Regions from separate parts of the Homo sapiens genome. Here region 2 is linked to region 1. The links are contacts of gene promoters, found by promoter capture Hi-C in human tissues and cell types (Jung and others, 2019). All regions are on one chromosome and are shown on one strand. The core of a region is centred on a gene start or on the middle of the fragment in contact, and the rest is flanking DNA. Distances in the headings are between cores, read along the strand shown. Region 1 holds the start of RNF180 (ring finger protein 180). Region 2 overlaps CWC27 (CWC27 spliceosome associated cyclophilin).

Region 1 (3,668 bases), core at 703-3,202:
GTAGGTAATCCGAAATAGTCTCCCTATTTGGGTCAGTCACTTTTATGACATCAGTAAAGTCCCTTTTCTATATACTGTAACATCTTTGCAGGATCCAGAGATTAGAATGTGGACATTTTGGGGGAGCCATTCTGCCTACCACAGTTGTTGCGGGTGTCACCTTCACTTCTCTTTTCTATCAGATTCTCTGTCTAACCACTTTGTTATAGAATACATCCTCCAATTGCTTCCTGAGAAAGAATGCATGAAAATACTATTTAAACCTTTGTATATTTGAAAATGTCTTTTTAAACCTCATACTTCATCAATTTCAAAATTGGAAATCATTTTTTTCTCAGAATTTATCTTTTATTTATGTTTCTGTTGAGAATCCAATGCCATTCTGATTTCTAAATCTTCATAAATCACCTCCTATTTTTTCCTCCATGAAAGTTAAGATCTCTCTGACTCATGTGGTTTGAAATTTCACAACTTGGTTATAGAAAATTTTTATCCATTAAACTGAGAGCTCATGTGCTTCTGTCCTTTAGCTCTGAGAACTGTTGTCCTCGTTTTCTTTGGTAATTATCTTTCTTCTCTTTGTTCTACTAGCTGTTAGATATTCCACCTTTCCTTGCCTAACTGCCCTGGCTAGTGCCTCCACTATAATGTTGAATAGAAGTAGCAACAATTGACATCCTTGTCTTATTCCTGATTTTAGGTGAAAATGTTCATTCTTTCAAGATTAAGTATGATGTTAATTATGGATTTTTCAGAGGCTCTTTATTAGGTTGAAGAAGTTTCCTTTTATTCCTAGTTGAAGTGTTTATATCAAGAAAGGGTGTTAGATTTTGTCAATTGCTTTTCCTTCATCTTTTGAGATGATCATGTGGTTTTTACATTTAGTCTATTTAAAGTAGTGTGTTACATTAATTTTGTATGTCACACCAAACTTGCATTCCTGAGATAAATCCTACTTGGTCATGTTGTATAATTTTTTAAAATGTTGCTGGGTTTGGCTTGCTAGTATTTTGTTGAGGATTTTTATGTTACTATGCATAAGGTATATTGGTCTGTAGTTTTCTCGTGATGTCTTTCATTTTGTTCTTTATTTCCTTGTATTTCCAGATGGGAAGTCACTGCATACAGCCCTAATCTTAGGACAAGTTTCCAAGTAAGCCACTTCAGGCAAATAAAAATTTCTGTATCTAGCAGAGAAACAAAGCTGTATATTTTTTTTGAGGTTCCCTCCTAGCTCCCTTCCCTCTCCTCAAGCCAACTAATAAAACTTGCTTTTTATATTCCGAATCTTATTTATAGTCGTTTGATCATCTATGAGGCACCTGCAAGTCAACATTTACTGCACGCGGCCCCCTCACTCCCTAAATAAGCACTTTTGATTTACCGCCAGTCATCAACTCACCTCCCAACTGCAATTTGTCAAGAGTAGTGTCAGGTGCACTTTAGTGGTTAATCTCCTTGCACATCGGTGGAACTTTAGGCACAAGAAGGTAAGCAACGAAGATAGTGATATACGAAGGGAAAACTAAACCCAGGTAGCGTTGCCAGCTTAAAAGTCCTAGGCATGGGGATGGGTGGATGGGACGCCGGCCTAAGATTTTAGCAGGGAACAGACCCAGTAGTTGGCTTGGATCTCTTAACTCCAGAAAAGGCCGAGTGAGGACAAGGGAGACCACAGGGATAATTTCTGTGGCTCTGGTAAGGGGATGACAAGGGAGAAAAACTTTCCCACGGTTCCGTCTGGCCCGCGGCGCTTGTCTGCCTGCGCGGGGTCAAAGCCCGGCGCCGCCCACGCGCGGCTCGGGTGGGAACCCGCAGACGTGGGGCGAGCAGGGCCGCTGGCTGTGGCGGGCGAGCGCCGGGGCGCCACGTCCGAGGCCGCGGGGTCGGGGCTGCAGGCACAGCTCGAGCGCTTTCCGCGGGGTTTGGCTCCTGTCGCTTCCCGTCTCGCCGAACCGGCATCGCCGCCGCCGGAGCCGCAGCGAGTCCTCAGAGCCTGGCTGCTGGCGGCCGGGAGCGCCGGGACGGGGCGCGAAGCCGGAGGCTCCGGGACGTGGATACAGGTAAAGGCCGGCGGGTCGGAGTCGGGCGGGGCGCGGCGGCGGCGCCTCTCGGAGGGACCTGGCCTCGGCCGGGCCCTACCCAGCCGCGGTGGCCCGGGCCCCCACGTTGGCCCAGGCGGGGACGTGCCAAGGGGCTGGGCTAGGGTTGCCGCTGGCCTGGCCGCCTCTCGCCCGGCGGGCCTCAGGTGACGCGGCCGCGGCTTAACTTTCGCACCTGAGGCTCTCGGAGCGGCCTCGGGGCGCGCCCACCTGGAGGTTGGAATTACACAGGGTCGAAAAAGCTGAGTCCTGGAGGCGAGGCGCTGTAGGTGTGGCGGAGGAGGCCGGGGAAGGTGGGGTGGGTGCCAGGGGTCCAGTACTGAACCCTCTCCAGGTCTGAGGTGGGGAACTGCGTCTTGTTTAATTTCGGAGCTTGTGGGGACCACACAGCCCCTTCCACGGCCGATTCCCTCTGCACGGTTCCACTTTCCTTTGTCTAGCCCATTTCAGTATCGGCGTCGCAGTCGCTTTTGTTGCAGCCTTGGGTCCGGAGTGTACGACTTTCTGCTAGGCAGAGGTCATAAGCTCTGAAATCCATCGGGCGGAGGTGGGGAGATGGTCCTTTGGTGGGAAATTACTAGTGCTGTTATGAACACTAACACATATATTCCACCTTGTTTTTTTTCGAGATAGTGCTCATTATTTTCGTAGCATCTAACAGTTGTAAGTGTATCTGTGAGAGCATTCATTAGTTAACTTCAAAGGAGCATTATGCGGTCGGGTTACTATTATCCCATTTTATAGACCAGACAGCTGAGGCACCCAAGAGGCAAAGTGATTATATCAAAACTAAGCAGTCAATCCTTGTGGAATCTGTGATTAGAACTTGTCTGACTAGAGTTGTCCTTGGTCCAGTTGGTCTCTTAGTCTCAAACAAAATTTAGCTCTCAAAGATGGACGGTCTGATGCTCATTGTATTTTTATATACTCATTAATTGTTAAAACCTTTCTTAAAAAATAGAGTCAATTCCTTTCAGACTCCTGTTATAGTACCCCTAAAAGTGATACTTGAAAGATCATAAACACTTCAGTTTCAAATGAGTGGTATCATTTGAGTCGTAGAAAGAAGTAAAATTCCGTTGTCTTTTATCTGTCAGACTTTCGTCTCTTGTATAAATGTAGTGCCACTGGCAGCCCAAAGATACTTTGGTGACAATGGCAGAAACTCTAAATATTTATTTAATAAGTAGAATCGAGGAGGCGAGCTGTTAGGTTTCCCGGAATATTTGAGTAAGTTTTTTCTCATAAAGAATCAAAAATTTAGGAGAATAGTCATTTTAATTATTGTAATGAAAAATTATCTCGTAATTGTGTACGTGTTATGTTGTACTTTATCTCTCTGGAACCATCAACAATTTACCAGTTTCCCTAGGGTTTGCTCTTAGTTTTGTCAATGGTATTTTATTACCCCATTTTTCTTCCTCTCTTTCATTTTTTGTGTGTTTGGTTTTTCAAAGTGAAGATTTTTTCTTCGAAAATTCAAAAAATAATATTGAAAAAATCAACAAGATTTCTTTCTTGATAAAATAGACTTAATTAGCACTTTTTTGAGTGTGTCTGAGGACC
Region 2 (3,668 bases), core at 532-3,031, 630 kb after region 1:
ATATGAATTACCTCACATGCTTATCATTTCTTGTGAGGAGAAAACTTAAAATCGCTCTTAGTGGTTTTCAAGAATACAATACAAGAACCCATTTTAAAAATATATTAACAATGAAATTAACAATTGTAAACTAACATTCACAAGGAAGTGAAATAGTATAGCTCATTAATGGACCAAGAGCTTACTTAGAGATCTGAATTCTAATCTTGCTTTTGCTATTTATTAGTGTAAGTCATTTTCTGATCAGTGGACCAAAAGGCTAGAACAGAGGATCTGGGGCCAATTCTGACTGTGATGTTTATGATTGTGACTTTATAAGGGAACCAGGTGGGGAGAATTAATATAGGACTATTTCTGAAGGTAGATGAAAATAATCTGACGGCCAGAGATGCAGGAGGAAGGAATTTTAAGGAAGGAAAGCATGAACAAAAGATGTTCAGGCTTTTATTCTTGTTTAAGTTATTTGATGTTCACTGTACACTTTTGCAGATAATCTCATTTAATTCTCTTATGTGAAATAGGCAAGGCTGCTATGATGATTATTCCCATTTTGTAGGCAATGTTTCTGAGGTCTCATGAGATCACTGTGTTTCAACAAATGGTACATGTTTTAGACTAAACCCCATGGAATTGTGGAATACTACATTTTGAAACTCATTTGGTCCAACCACCATCTTTCTTCTTGTCCTGTCTTCTTTCTACTATACCACCTTCTGTTTTGTGAATATTTTCCCCCGTTTTTCATAGTCAGACAAACATTATCCAGTAATTAGATGACATTTTGCTTTTTCATCACTCCTTAGTTTAAGTAAGTTTATGAAATTAGATATATAGATTAATTGCATAATTCAGATTCTATGACTTTTTAAAACTACAAATAATAGCATATTTAGATTAACTGTTGGAGAAAATTTTGTATTATGAAATTGCACTATAAGCATGTTTTAATTGATTAACTCTATAGAGAGCTCCATATTAATACAGAAATTAAAATCTATTTAAGAGCCTGTTTTTCAAATTAAAAGTGGTGAAGGGAGCTTAAGGAAAAGAAGTGTTTTCATCTCTCTGTGTCTGTGTCTGTTTAAATGTCATTTAAACATTTTAGTTAACATACTTTGTAATAAATTTTCCCACATAAAATTTTCTTCAAAATTTTTCAAAGCAGAAATTATTCTTTCTGTCAACTCTAATCTCTTAACTATTCATTTTTATATGATTAGTTGGGAGTTGGGGTGGTGAGCATCTTCCCCCCTCAAGATACAGGGTGTAAGTTTGAGGTGTCCCACCCTGCAGTAGGGAAATCTGTAGAATAGGAGATTGCAGCTCTGAAACCAGGCCGGTATTCTGGGCCCATAGGGGCCTAGAGGAAAAGAAAAATGGATACATTTAGATTTTCGATATATGGGTACTATTGTCAGACAGACCTGGATTTAAACCCTAGATCCTCTACCACTGACTAGTTTTGTGACCTTTAGTAAATTACTTAATCTCTTTAACCATCTGTAAAATGGGGCTAATAATTCCCACCTCATATACTTTAATTTGGGAAGAGAAGAAGAGAGGGTTAGCAATGCTATTTGAAGCACAGTGCCTAGCACAAAGAATATACTTAATACTTGGCCAGGCACAGTGGCTCATGCCTGTAATCCCAGCACTTTGGGAGGCTGAGGCGGGCAGATCATGAGGTCAGGAGATCAAGACCATCCTGGCCAACATGGTGAAACCCTGTCTCTACTAAAAATACAAATATTAGCTGGGCGTGGTGGCGCATACCTGTAATCCCAGCTACTTGGGAGGCTGAGGCAGGAGGATCGCTTGAACCCCGGAAGCGGAGATTGCAGTGAGCTGAGATCACACCACTGCACTCCAGCCTGGTGACAGAGTGAGACTCCATCTCAAAATATATATATATATACTTAATAGCAGCAGTAGTTGTTGTTTTATAATGCTACTTCTTAAACCTTTTTATATCTTGTTTCCCTTCTAAAATGTACATTTTTTGAAAACATGAACTTTGAAATTAAAGCATTTAATAAATATTTGGTCACTGATAAATATTCTCATGCTCAAGAGGCTCTTCTATATCTTTTTTTGTTGTTGTTGGTAAGTAGTTCCTCGGGGATGCACTTATCTTTTGCTTGAGTAACATTTTAAAAAGTGATTCTGTGCAGTATAGGTGGCATATTTGAAGAATAATAGCATGCATTTATTTCAATACTCTTGTGATGTAGCTTCTAAGTTATAGGGGTCATAAAAATTAACTAGTTTCATAGTATGCAAATTATTATGAGAATTTAGTGCTTCAAGTTGGTAATTCAACAGACTTCTTTTAAATGATATATCATTTTTTGAAAGAAAAGGTGTTTCTAAAATACTATTTTCAGTCAATAGAAGAGTAAGATTCTTACTTATAAAACTTTAGTTTGTATTAAACTTTTCAGGAATACATCTTTTGCTAACCATATTATATCATTGCTAGGTTTTATGTAAATTTGTTAACTTGTTATTTAGGAATACTGTTTATTTCCCCCCTCATGATTATATTGTACATTCTTTGCAGAGCATGAAGGGCAAAAGCAAAAGTAGTCATGACTTGCTTAAGGATGATCCACATCTCAGTTCTGTTCCAGTTGTAGAAAGGTTAGTCCATTGTTGGTATGATCCTAAGTTCTTAATTTTCTGGCTCAGATAATTTTCTTGCTTCTTCTGTGAGTAAACAGTCAGTCCTCATAAGTCAAAAATTTTTAAGCCAGCCAAAAAAATAAAGCATTTTGATAACAGAGATAGAGAACTTCAAGCTTGATAGAGAGAAACAAACGCTCTAGTCACTTTCGCACTTGCTCTCTACCTCTGTTGAATGAATTACATTTAAAATTGTTTTACCATTACATGTTAGGACTAGAAACTGTTTGCTTTAACAGTGTAATGCTTAATTCAAGGTTGTTTTGCTACCTTTTCCTTGAAGCATTTTTGCCTTAATTGTATCATGAATGAACAAATTACAGTTAAAGGTTTTTGTGAAGAAGTTACCAGTTTGGGGGCCAGTCCACTGACTATAAATTCTCACATACTTTGAGGAGTTAACAGAAAGTTGTCTTGCTACCTTTGTTGCTTCTCTTTGAGAAGGGAAAACGTCTTGGTGTTAGATGTAATAGCACAAGATAAACTGGGCCAGTATCTCAAGGGGCACTACAATGCTGTTGTACTCAGTTTAGCTCATTTTCGAAACTCCTGTTTTAAGACAATCTTTTCTTAATACCCTTCTATTTGAAGGATTTGGGGGTTTTTTTAGTCAGAATATTTCAAGCCAATAAAAGAAATTGTTTTTTGCAGACCATTGATCATAAAAATAACACTGTCGGTTGTTGTTTGCTTTTTTCCTTTCAAATTCTAGTGAACGCATATATTTGCTAATGAATCATACTTATTCCACTTATAAAAAATGACTCTAAAGAATGTTTCCATCTGTTCTATAATGCCTTTCTTAAATTCCTATGTTGAAATACATTTTTGGAATGTTATTCCCAGCAAACTATTCTAGATTTTTGGGTTACAAAATAATTGTGTTAGTTTTACCTTGAAACTAAAATTTGTTTTGCTTATTTTTTTTATAGTGAAAAAGGTGATGCACCAGATTTAGTTGATGTAAGTATTTATTTTGGTATTAA

The links. The method cuts DNA at HindIII sites, captures the fragments that hold promoters and counts their contacts. A contact is called where the count stands out against the background at its distance.
Region 2: a contact is called between a fragment that was not itself captured here and the fragment with the promoter of RNF180 in region 1, in 1 of the 25 tissues and cell types used here (bladder).

What each region holds. Positions count from the first base shown.
Region 1 is chr5:64,163,891-64,167,558 of GRCh38, forward strand. It overlaps RNF180 (ring finger protein 180), which reads left to right and starts at 1,953. Exons shown (of 8, transcript NM_001113561.2): 1 at 1,953-2,063. The HindIII fragment of the contact is 11,374 bases long and covers 1-3,668 here.
Region 2 is chr5:64,797,688-64,801,355 of GRCh38, forward strand. CWC27 (CWC27 spliceosome associated cyclophilin) reads left to right here. Exons shown (of 14, transcript NM_005869.4): 8 at 2,561-2,640; 9 at 3,615-3,645. Among named protein-coding and RNA genes, the nearest start is that of CWC27, 31 kb to the left of the region's middle. The HindIII fragment of the contact is 3,591 bases long and covers 1-3,577 here.